Linked DNA regions of Homo sapiens: regions 1, 2 and 3 are each linked to region 4. Evidence: promoter capture Hi-C in human tissues and cell types (Jung and others, 2019). All regions are on one chromosome and are shown on one strand. The core of a region is centred on a gene start or on the middle of the fragment in contact, and the rest is flanking DNA. Distances in the headings are between cores, read along the strand shown. Region 1 overlaps MACC1-OT1 (MACC1 3' UTR overlapping transcript 1). Region 2 holds the start of TMEM196 (transmembrane protein 196). Region 3 has its middle 140 kb from the start of TMEM196. Region 4 holds the start of MACC1 (MET transcriptional regulator MACC1).

Evidence for each region. Contacts are between HindIII fragments. The study calls those that stand out against the background at their distance.
Region 1: a fragment that was not itself captured here is called in contact with the fragment with the promoter of MACC1 in region 4 in 1 of the 25 tissues and cell types used here (mesenchymal stem cells).
Region 2: a contact is called between the fragment with the promoter of TMEM196 here and the fragment with the promoter of MACC1 in region 4, in 4 of the 25 tissues and cell types used here (liver, mesendoderm cells, neural progenitor cells and 1 more).
Region 3: a contact is called between a fragment that was not itself captured here and the fragment with the promoter of MACC1 in region 4, in 3 of the 25 tissues and cell types used here (aorta, dorsolateral prefrontal cortex and thymus).

What each region holds. Positions count from the first base shown.
Region 1 is chr7:19,938,458-19,941,157 of GRCh38, forward strand. The region is part of intron 5 of MACC1-OT1 (MACC1 3' UTR overlapping transcript 1); the gene reads right to left. Among named protein-coding and RNA genes, the nearest start is that of TMEM196, 170 kb to the left of the region's middle. The HindIII fragment of the contact is 6,182 bases long and covers 1-2,700 here.
Region 2 is chr7:19,772,341-19,775,040 of GRCh38, forward strand. It overlaps TMEM196 (transmembrane protein 196), which reads right to left and starts at 1,277. Exons shown (of 5, transcript NM_001363562.2): 1 at 210-1,277. The coding sequence starts at 356. All of the region lies in intron 1 of LOC107986774 (a long non-coding RNA gene), which reads left to right. The HindIII fragment of the contact is 12,021 bases long and covers 1-2,700 here.
Region 3 is chr7:19,914,485-19,917,184 of GRCh38, forward strand. No RefSeq gene overlaps it. Among named protein-coding and RNA genes, the nearest start is that of TMEM196, 140 kb to the left of the region's middle. The HindIII fragment of the contact is 6,210 bases long and covers 1-2,700 here.
Region 4 is chr7:20,215,981-20,218,680 of GRCh38, forward strand. MACC1 (MET transcriptional regulator MACC1) reads right to left here and starts at 1,404. Exons shown (of 7, transcript NM_182762.4): 1 at 1,319-1,404. GIRGL (glutamine insufficiency regulator of glutaminase lncRNA) reads left to right here and starts at 1,597. Exons shown (of 4, transcript NR_134569.1): 1 at 1,597-1,642; 2 at 2,276-2,383. RefSeq lists an enhancer at 1,229-2,428. The HindIII fragment of the contact is 10,614 bases long and covers 998-2,700 here.

The DNA of each region.
Region 1 (2,700 bases), core at 175-2,674, 280 kb before region 4:
ATAAAAACAAACATATAGGCCAATGGAGCAGAATAAAGAACCCCAAAATAAATCCTCATATTTACACTCAACTTATTTTTGACAAAGGTGCCAAGAACACACATTGGGGAATAGGCAGTCTCTTCAATAAATGGTTCTGAGAAAACTTAGATAGCTACAGGCAGAAGAATGAAATTAGACCCCTATGACTCACCATATACAAAAGAAAGCAACCCAAAATGGATTGAAGACTTAAATGTAAGACCCAAAACTATGAAACTACTAGAGGAAAACCTAAAAGAAACAAATTTATTTGAACCCAGTAACATCGTTCATATAACATTTAAAAACAGACTGTGAGGAACAGGGCTTATAATCATCTTTTCTGGTCAGGTAGCCCTCCTTATCTCTTAGACTTATATCTGTATATTAAGGGAAAATTCAAGTATTGAGCCAACTACCTCAATCTCCTTCCTCTGAAGTGATAATGATGTTTTCTGTTTCTGTTTTCATCTTGACTCTAATTGGAATAAACATTTTTTCAAGGGCCAAGATTATTACATATTTTAAAACTTCTGTAGTTCAGTATGTTCATAGTACATTAAAAAATTTGTGTATCTATCTACAGGTATTAATCCTGTCTCTCAGAGTGAGTTCCCATTGCTAGCATGAAAAACACAGACCACAAAAATTGAAATGGGTATTTCTATTCTCACTTCTCTCAAAAACAGAAATCTAAAACATATTAAGAGATTTTTCACAAGTCACATAACAAATCTGAGGTTGAGCCATAGACCCCATGGCTTCTCCCATTTTGCCATAGTAATCACCCTTTCATTTAAAAGTAAATATAAAATCTGTATTATTACTCTAAGTTATTATAATATCAAATAAGTGATAATTAACCCTATGTATCAGAAACTGTTTTAGGCAACAACATTTTCCTCTAAATACCAACTGGAATTTTGTTATTAAAAATAGTCTCTAAGTTTCCTATCTGTCCTCATCCTAGTTGCAAAGTTTGGCTCAATGGAAAGCATCATATGACTCTCACAGGGCACTGGAAATGTGTATTTCATGGTGCTCCGCATTAAGCATCTACTAGCAAAGGAACATGGCTTGGAGTCATATACTTGAATATTCTATTCATACATCTGTGTGAATGCAGAAAGTCCTCTTGATCTTTACAAGCCTCATTTTCCTAGACTATAATGAAATTTTCTTATTTATTTCAAAAAGTTTAAACATGAAAACAATGTAAAAAAAAATAAGCGCTGATGTTGTTAATACATTTCCCACAGCACCTGACTGTAAAGCATCATCTGCTTGGTGGGTCATTGCTAAATCCCTCCTTTCCCTTCCTGTCTATTTTCAATGTTTACTTTCACTTGTCTTCACAGAAGCCAGGATCATCTTCTGTGACATAACCTAGAGCATGCATGAACATTCATTATAAAGTGAAAAGCAGGGTTGTCTGTGATCAGTTCCCAAGGAATTCCATCCCCTGACTCAACAAGCATGAGACATGAGTCTTTTTCCCTCCAGTGGGAGGGCTACAACCATCCAGTCATCCTTGGGACATGTGATATTTGGGCAGTTTGCCTTTCCCAGCAATTTCCTAAAGATCTGCAGGATCCTTAACTCAGACAACCAGTTGCCTAGGTCAGACATCATAAGGCATTCTCAGGGTCAGCATGTGCATTAAAAACAAAAGAGCCGTCAAGGGGTGGGGTCTTCTCCTGGAACATAGCAGCAGTGTGGCCTGTAGGCCCTGAGCCAAGCACAACTCTCTTGAGGAGTGGTGACCACCTGCTCCCTCATAGTCCCTTTCTTGCCTTGCAAAGTGTCCCAAAAGCTTATCTGAATCCCATACCCCACCACGGTTAATTTCCTTACTTCTTAGTACCCACCTTACCATAATCCTTGGAAACAGACATCATGCCTTTTCCACTGTTTCTGCTTTTCTTTTTGTCCTCCAGTGCTTAACATGGCACGAGGCATATAGTAAACATGTAGTAAAGAGATTTAATGTATTAAACTATTAAGTTGCCAAGGAAGGACAGGAGGCCTAGAAAACCTGAATTGTTCAGGTTTACATAGAGATCATTTTCTTTCTATAAGGAAAATAGAAAAGATAAGTCTCAGAATTAATGTGGTTCAGATGGGCAGAGGGAAACCGGATAGGAGATAATAACAGAGGACTCGGAACAAATACTAATTATGTGTTCAGGGGAGGAAAAAAGGAACTCAATTAAGCCTTTTTGGATTCATGGACAAACCAGAGAGAAATGCAGAGACAAACACAAGTTTAGGGCTGCCTTGCTGTGAACACTCACTCTGCCTGGATTTACCCTGGGTGTCTAGCCAGCTTCCCCAGCACTTTTCCTGCGTGAGGCTGTATTGATTGCACAGGTTAAGTGGGGTGTCTTATTATTTGTGTAGGTCAGGCTTTCCTGTTATAACTTGCAGTTCATTTTCATTTATTTTAAAAATCAGCAAAAGCAAAAACACCCAGCTGCTGCCTGGGGTGCTCTTCTGCTGAGATGAAGGTTAAGATTTATCAGCTACATTCCCTATAACATTGTTTTGTCCAAGCAAACTCTCTCCCTCCTGTTTGCTTTAATTGTTGGAATAAATAGGGAGACATAAAGTAAAGGTAAATAGAGAGAAGCCAGTAATCATATCCTTTGGCTTTTCATTAGTCTCTATAGGTGTTAGGCA
Region 2 (2,700 bases), core at 27-2,526, 440 kb before region 4:
AACAAAACAAAACAAAACAAAACAAAACAGAAAACGAATAAAGGACAATATAAAGAAGCATAGCTTGTCAGCATGAACCTACATGCAAGCCAGAGATCTATGATTTTGTTTCCCAGGGAGGGAGTGACTAATGCGCGCACCCTGACCATCACCGTAAAGAGGTAAAGAGAGAGTGAAATGGCTCAACGTACACACACCCCGCTCCATACCGGGGACGAGTCTCCGAGCTGCGGCTTGTGCTCTCGGAGGGCCAGGCTGAAGCTGACCGCCCCCACGGCCACGCTGGACACCCCCAGCCCTATCTCCAGCACGGAGAGCACCAAGAGGCTCCCAATAATCTGACCGCTGGTGCACATCCTTCCTCGGTCATCTTCCTTCCAGATCAGAGAGGGAAATCAACCATCTACCTTTTTTTCTTCCACTATCCTCCTTACCCCTTCCACCCCCTACCAGATCCCAAAACTTTTCTTTCTTCAAGAGCGAGGCATTATCCACAAGGGCTGGATTTCCAGAAACGAAGACCTTCCCTGGCTGGGCCAGAGGCAAAGGAGCTGCTCCACCCCCTGGCACGTTCAGATAGGGATCGTAGAAGGATCTTCCTGGGTTCGGTGGTGCGAAGATTGCACACCGGTACCGGGGCTTTTAAGCAGCGGAAAACCTGGAGGAGCCCAGGGAGCTCCGAGCCTTGCTCCCCAGGCGCTGTCCAGAGTTCTGCCGCGTCCCAAATCTCCGCAGGGAAACCCGCGCCCTCCTCAGCCTACTAGACCCTTTCACAGGGTCCCTTCTGTTTTATTGCCGAGGAGAGGAGCTTTGCTTCCCGGAGATCCAAAGGGAACCGCTCCGAGTTTCTCTCTCCCTCTCCCGTTCGTCACCTCTCCTTTGTTTTCGTGGCAATGCGAAGTGCTTCTGCAAGTCTCTGGGTCCCCAGGCAGAGCGGGCGGATGATATTCAGCACCACGCTCCTTGCAGTTGCTTTGTCGCCAGAAAAAGCGACCTTGTCTGATGGCCTCTTTCCGTCTGGGTTTCTTCTCCCTCGTCGTCGTCCTCTTCCTCCTCCTTTCTCTCGAGCTGATTCTCTTTCATTGCTATGACCTCATTGGGGTTTAGGAGGTTGACGGAGGAGGAAAAAGCCTAATGTATTTGTAGATCCAGGACCAGTACTCTTGGCTGGCCTTTGATCCGCCCCGCCCCCGGACCGCAGCAACAGAAATCCAGGCGACCCCTACCTCCGCTTCTCCCCGTGGCTCCTTTCTGGGCTTCTATCCAGCGGAGAGGGGAGGCGATGCCTACGTCAACGCGGGCTCATTCTGAGAAAAACTTTCTTTAGCTTGTACGCGGGGTAGGGGGAGCAGTGAGCAAAGAAAGACGGAAACCCCAGGGGGGTGGAAAAAGCCAGACTCCTAATGTCACTAGGACTCTCAAGGCCCCTCACCAAGGAACTCCCCTGTCTAGGAGAGCTAGATTCAAGCCTGCTTACAAGGAATGTCCACTCCCGGCCATCACAGCCTGTCACCTTCCGTGTCGTAGGGCGAAGAAGCAGTTGATGGGGGCCACACCTCCACGGTGATTTTGTTCCTCTCCAGCCACAGACCCTTGCTTTCCCCTAGGAGCGTGACCACACGTTCTGGGAGGCATAGCTAGACCCAACTGAGCTGGGATTATATATTCTCAACAAAATTCAAGAGATGTGTATGCATTAGAACAGGCATTATTTAAAAAAAAAACACGTCTGGCTTAATGCACAATTATTTTTGACAGTCTACTTTCATCAGAATCTTTAGGGCAGGGGCCAGTCCAGCTTGGCCTGGGATATTTTTGCATTGTCTTTTGATGCCTATGAGACTCTAGATGTCTAGGGATCGCTGTGTTTAGACCCCATTTTCATTACTCTAGTTTTATGAAAAATCTCAAGGTATTCTATCAAGGAGATCTAGGAAGTGGGATAAAGAGAGGGTTTTGGGTGTGGGTCATCTTTCTCAAAAACTGGGTTCTCCAGTTCGACATGGACTGAAGGAAAATAGAACAAAGGAAGATGAGGTTAGGGTACAATAACACAAGACTAGGGAATGTTGACTTCTATACATCAGTGCAGTGCAGGCGCCTCTATTAGAGGCTTCTTAAAGCTCCCATGATGAGAACATAAAAGCTCGGTGACCTATAGCATAAGTTCTGTAACATAAATGCCAGTTTCAGTTTTCTTAAATTTGATTAAGGGCTTCTTTTAGAGTTTAAACTCAATTCTACACTATAATTTTTTTCATATGTTTATATTCTATAATTTAAAAATTTGAATCCTTTTCTCTTAAAAATAAAACAAATGTAAGGAAGAAGAGTTACAATTTGTTAGGCCTTAAAGAGCTTCAGTTATTGTGATATTTGGAGTACAAATAAACATTGGTACTGAATGATAATTAGTGGATTCATTTCTATGCTTTTAAATCCTCAAAGACATGCTAAAGTACCTCATTAGTGTATGGCTTTAATGATGTAAAGTTTATTTAATTTAAATAATACAGAAGTCATCTAAATGATCCAATTTATATGCATAAATAATACAGCATATATGTTGTTGAAGTTTTGCTTTGTGTTTAGTCACTTCTTTTCTTTAGGAAAAAAATGCTTCTCTGTTAGGAAGACAACAAGTTGTAATATTAAATGAATTGATTAATGGAGACATATAGGAAGGGAAATAAACTTTTG
Region 3 (2,700 bases), core at 158-2,657, 300 kb before region 4:
AGCTATGAAAGTCCTAGATGGCATCGTCTTCCAATAGAAGGCTGTTTCATCTACATTGAAAATCTGTTGTTTAGTGTAGCCACCTTCATCAATTATCTTAGCTAGATCTTTTGGATAACTTGCTTCAGTTTCTCCATCAGCACTTGCTGCACCTTCCACATTTATGTTCTAGAGATGGCTTCCTTCTTTAATCCCCATAAATCAACCTGTGTAGCATCAATCTTTTCCTCTCAGCTCCCTCTTCTCTCTCAGCCTTCACAGAATTGAAGAGTTAGGGCCTTGTTCTGGATTAGACTTTGGCTTAAGGGAATGTTGTGGCTGGTTTGATCTTCTATCTATACCACTAAAACTTTCTCCATAACAGCAATAGGTTTGTTTTGCTTTCTTATTATTTGCATGTATTTACTGGAGTAGTACTTCTAATTCTCTTAAATAATTTTTTCTTTGCATTCACAACTTGGCTAACTGGTGCAAGAGGCTAAGTTTTTGACCTGTCTCAACTTTCAATGTTCTTTCCTCACTAAGCTTAATCATTTATAGCTTGTGATTAAAAGTAAGAGACATCTAACCATTTCTTTCACTTGAACAATTAAGGACCATGGCAGAGCTATTAATTGGCCTAATTTCAATATTCTTGTGTCTGAGGACATAGAAAGGCCTGAGGAGCAGGAGAGAAATGGGGGAGTGGCCATTTGGTAGAGCACTCGGAAAACACACATTCATTGATTTAGTTCATTGTCATGGTGCACTCAAACAATTACAAAAGTAACATCAAAGGTCACTGATCACAGATCACCATAATAGGTATAATAATAATAAAAATATTGTAAATAATATGAGAATTATCAAAATCTGACACAGAGACATGAAGTGAGCACATCCTGTTACAAAAAAAATGGCCCCAATAGACTTGCTTGATACAGAGTTTCCACAAACCTTCAATTGGTTAAAAACTGCAGTATCTGTGAAACACAATTAAGTTAAACAGTATAAAATGAGATATTCCTGTATTAAGTTACTAAGTGGAGGTGTTTTAAAAGATACGAGAGACAGAAGAAAAAATCTATGCCTTGTCTTCTTGTCCACAGGGATCTCAATTTAGCTGAAAACAGAGACATATATGCCTTTAAAAAATAAAAATTAAAAAAGCTCATCTTGCATGTTTTGTGCATTCTGTTTCTACCTGGAACACTCTCTCTATCCCCTTGCCTGACTCTTCCTAGCTGACTCCTTTCCTTTAAGATTCTAACTAAAGCCTGCATTTTCAAGGAGGACTTTCCTGTTCCCAGGAGACTTACCTTGGAATTTCCTTATCAATCATTTAGCAGCATTCTGCACTTTCCCTTTTATTATCACCCTTTACAGCAGTGAGTTGCTTTTTGTCTCCTTTTTTGTCTACTTCTGAATTGAGAAGAAGCCCAATAAATTGAGAAGAAGTGTCAAATCAATAAAAACCTTTGAAGAGTAATTTTAAAAGTTAAAAACTAAATGCCATTGACAGTTTAAGAAGGAAAATGGGGACTTTAGGCAGCAGAAAAAAAATTCATATAGAAAGTTAGGGTCTGATATTTTTATTGGTAATAAAAATGAAGATGAAAGGTGGAATTATGCATGGTGATAAAAACTGATTGAAAGTGTGGATTCACACTTAAGGAAAAGTAAAAATTGCCATTCATTTCTGGCCTGTGAGTCACATCTAGAATCAGCCTTGACCTGGTTGACACATTACATTCTGCACATACCTAACAGCTCTAATTAATGTGTGTGCAGATCATCAAATGAGTTGGCATTAGTAGAAAAGAACAAAACAGTTTTTTTTTTTAATGTGGAGGATAATGGTTGAGCCAGCTTTCTGTTTTATTACTGCCAAATGGCTTGATCATGGAAGCAGTGCGCATAAAAATGTCAAAGGATTATGGAAAAAGCTATTCCTTCAGTTTTTAAATGGACATAAGATACTTATGGACTTGATAACAGGAGCTATTTTTTGTTGAATTTTCAACCAATTTTATAAAGCTTTCCTCTTAAGGAAAGTTATTGGTCTCAGAACTTTTAAAATTGAAAGAAATCATCCCAGGTTGCTGAATATGACTTTCTTTTTTTAGTTTCCTCATTCAGTAGAACATATTCTTTCCCTGATATATTGTTTCAATAGAAATTTGTATTGTTTTCATTTATCAGGGAAGTATGAAAGAACTGATTATGCTGAACAGATGGCAATGCCCATTACAGAATAAGGGCCAGAACAATTTCATGCAAGTTCATATCTTTGCAATGACATTACCAGTGATTACTAAAATATAATTTTAAATTTATCCAATCATTCTGTAAGATGTACAAAATTTCTCACTTATATTTTAAATTGCTAATTATTTTGCACATTTTTATTGTCTGTTATTAGACAGAAAATCCAGAAGGATGATTGTTTTCTAATATAAGTGCAATATTGCTTAGTTATTTGAATCTTAAAATGAGTGAACATGAGACTGTTGTAAGTCTCAACAAAGACAAATAAATAAAAGGGTAATTTATTCATTTATTTATGAATAAATTGGATTTTTTAGTGATGATCTTCATCTAATAAACATAGATCCTCAAATTCATATCAATCATTGCTCATTGTTAACATGTAATTGGGGGATTCATAATTATTTTTCTAAGGTCTAGGTAAAAAGATTGTAGGGTCTGTTAATAATTTAT
Region 4 (2,700 bases), core at 154-2,653:
ATTATGACTTCATAATTTCTAGATTCTGTACACTACCCATGAAATCATATTAAAAATCGCTATTATGAATAAAAGATAATCATGTAATTAAGTTCAGGGGGGCATAAAAGAATCACCACTGAGGTTAAGACAACTTTAAGAATATACCTGAAATTCATCATTATCACCCAGTAATTGCTATGTAAAAACCAGACATTAACATAGATAAGTCAATATCAATCCTAAATTAGACCCACTGAATATAGACTTAAGACATTTTTAGGAAATTAGGAAGACCTTTAATAAATGGAAGGCATTGGAATTTTCACTACATGCTTTTTGATCTTAAAAATAAATTTTTTAAAATCTATCTTTATTAATTGTGGTAAAAAACTTAACATACAATTTACCATCCTAACCATTTGTAAGTGTTTACACTTACAAATTTTAAGTTCAATAGTATTAAATATATTTACATTATTGTACAGTCTCCAAGTGTTTTCATCTTGTAAACTGAAACTCTATATCCATTAAACAACTCTCATTTCTCCTTCCCCCAAGCCCCTGGCAACTACCATTCTAAGTATCATTTATGTGAGTTTGACTACTCCAGATACCTCAGGTAAGTTGAATCATCCAGTATTTGTCTTTTTGTTTCTTTGGTGTGTTTTCCAAGCTTAATTGAAACTTAATTAGGATGAAGCCAAGTTACCCTCCATCATGTATCATCTGTCTATTCAGTACAATGCACTGTGCTAATTTAATGACCCCCTTAACTTAATTACATGATTATCTTTTATTCATAATTTAATGCTATTAACCTAATGAGGTAGGTTATGCACACACACTTTACAGATGAGGAAACTGAGACTTTGCGAGGTGAAACATCTTGTCAATGGTCATAAATCTAATAAGCAGTGGGGCTGCTGATTGCAACTTTATCTATCTTCAAAGCACAGTCTTTTTAACATACCTGTATGCTTTTTGAGATATTTAAAGTTTTTAGGGGATTTCAGCCATCTACATATTTTAAGCAACTCATAGAGTGTTTTGTTTTTGCCTTTGATGGTTAATGTGACCTGGGTTCCTCCTTTTTTTTAAAATAAACTACTTTATTCTAAACCATGTCTCAAGGTATTATTCTATTCTATGTCATGAGGTTTATTCTAACACATGTCCCATAAGCCCACAGAATACCAGTTACCTTCCCTTTATTTAAGCAGGGCTTGATTTGTTAAGCAGCTGGTTTGTTACATTTTTCTGGAAATTATACAACTTCCTAGTGTGTAGCACATATCAATAGTGAAAGGAATATTATTTTTAAAAAATCAGCACTTACATTTGTGGAAGTGAGCCCAAGCTTCTTCAGTTCAGACACATGGTTTTAGTGAATAGAAGTCACTCTACCAAACCCGGGTACTCTTCAAACATGCCTTGCTCCGTATGCAGGCAGGCAACTGCACCCCTGCTTCCTGAGCCACCTGGGACTTGAAGTTCTACCACTGTGGCTCCAAAGCTGCCCAACTAGAAACCCCAAAAGGCAAGAGAACTACGATACCCACAATTCAGGCTCCTCACCCGAAACCAGAAGAGGGCGTATGGCTAGAGTTTCACCCTAAGAAGAAAGGGGAAGCAGGTGGAAAAGCAATTAAAAAAAAATCAGGTGAGTATATCTAAGAACCATCTGTAAATATAATCTTATTTCCATGAAAGGAAATAAAAGTGGTTTAATGTTTGCCAGGGAGTAAGAAGGCACCCTCAGTGTTAGCAATAAGTAAAAAATATTTATGCAAGCAAATCCTCATGCAGCTGGAACTTGCCCCACCAGATTCTCTTTCGGTGATTCAGAGCTGAAGGTGCCTCACTGCCCTGTGGAACAGGTGAATAAAGCCTTCCCAGGTGAGTGACAGTGTCTAACTAGTTCCCCCTTTCCCTCTACATCAGCACTGTGATTGTCACTCAAAGACATAGACATATAGACATAATGGAGACCTTTTGGCATTTCATCTTCTAAAATGCTCTGGATTTTTAAGATAACACTTTAAAATGTGCCTTTTAAAATATAAGCAAGAATAAAGTTTTCTTGATATTTTCTTCCATTTTACTTTCCATTTCTGTGTTTTGTGTTTTCCTTCTGTGTATTTTGTTCAAAATTCAAGAAAGAGAAAATTAGGGGAAAGGGGAAAAAAGGTAAAACTTAGTGAAATGAAATGTGCAATAATTGTTTCACATTTTTTTCCAACATCAGCAACAGAGAATGTTTAAAACAAATGTGTTTCTCTATTTGTTCATACAGCATCTCTCTCTAGCCTATTATCTCCTGTTAGACACAGCCCAGAAAATGAATAGAGACAAGTCCTGGCTGGGTCTGGGTTCAGAAACATAATAGAAGGATTCATCTAATGTAAGTAGATGGCAGAATGGTGACAAAGAAAAAGTTTCCTTTCCCTTTTCTGCACTTTCTCTCCTACTGTTCTAACCACCCCTTCCTCCCTGATGCATCCCTGGCTTCATGCTGCCAGATCACCTAATCCACCCAGATTCCCTTTGAAGTTTCCCCTTGACTCATCCCACAATCCAAACTGAGCTGTTCTGTTTCTTTTTGTCACAGGTTCCTCAACTCTCTACTAGAACCTAGCTTTCCTTTATGTCATTATATTATTTCCAAAACAAATGGTTCTTAATTTCCCCAAACCCTACAGAGGGCATTCTGCATGGCAT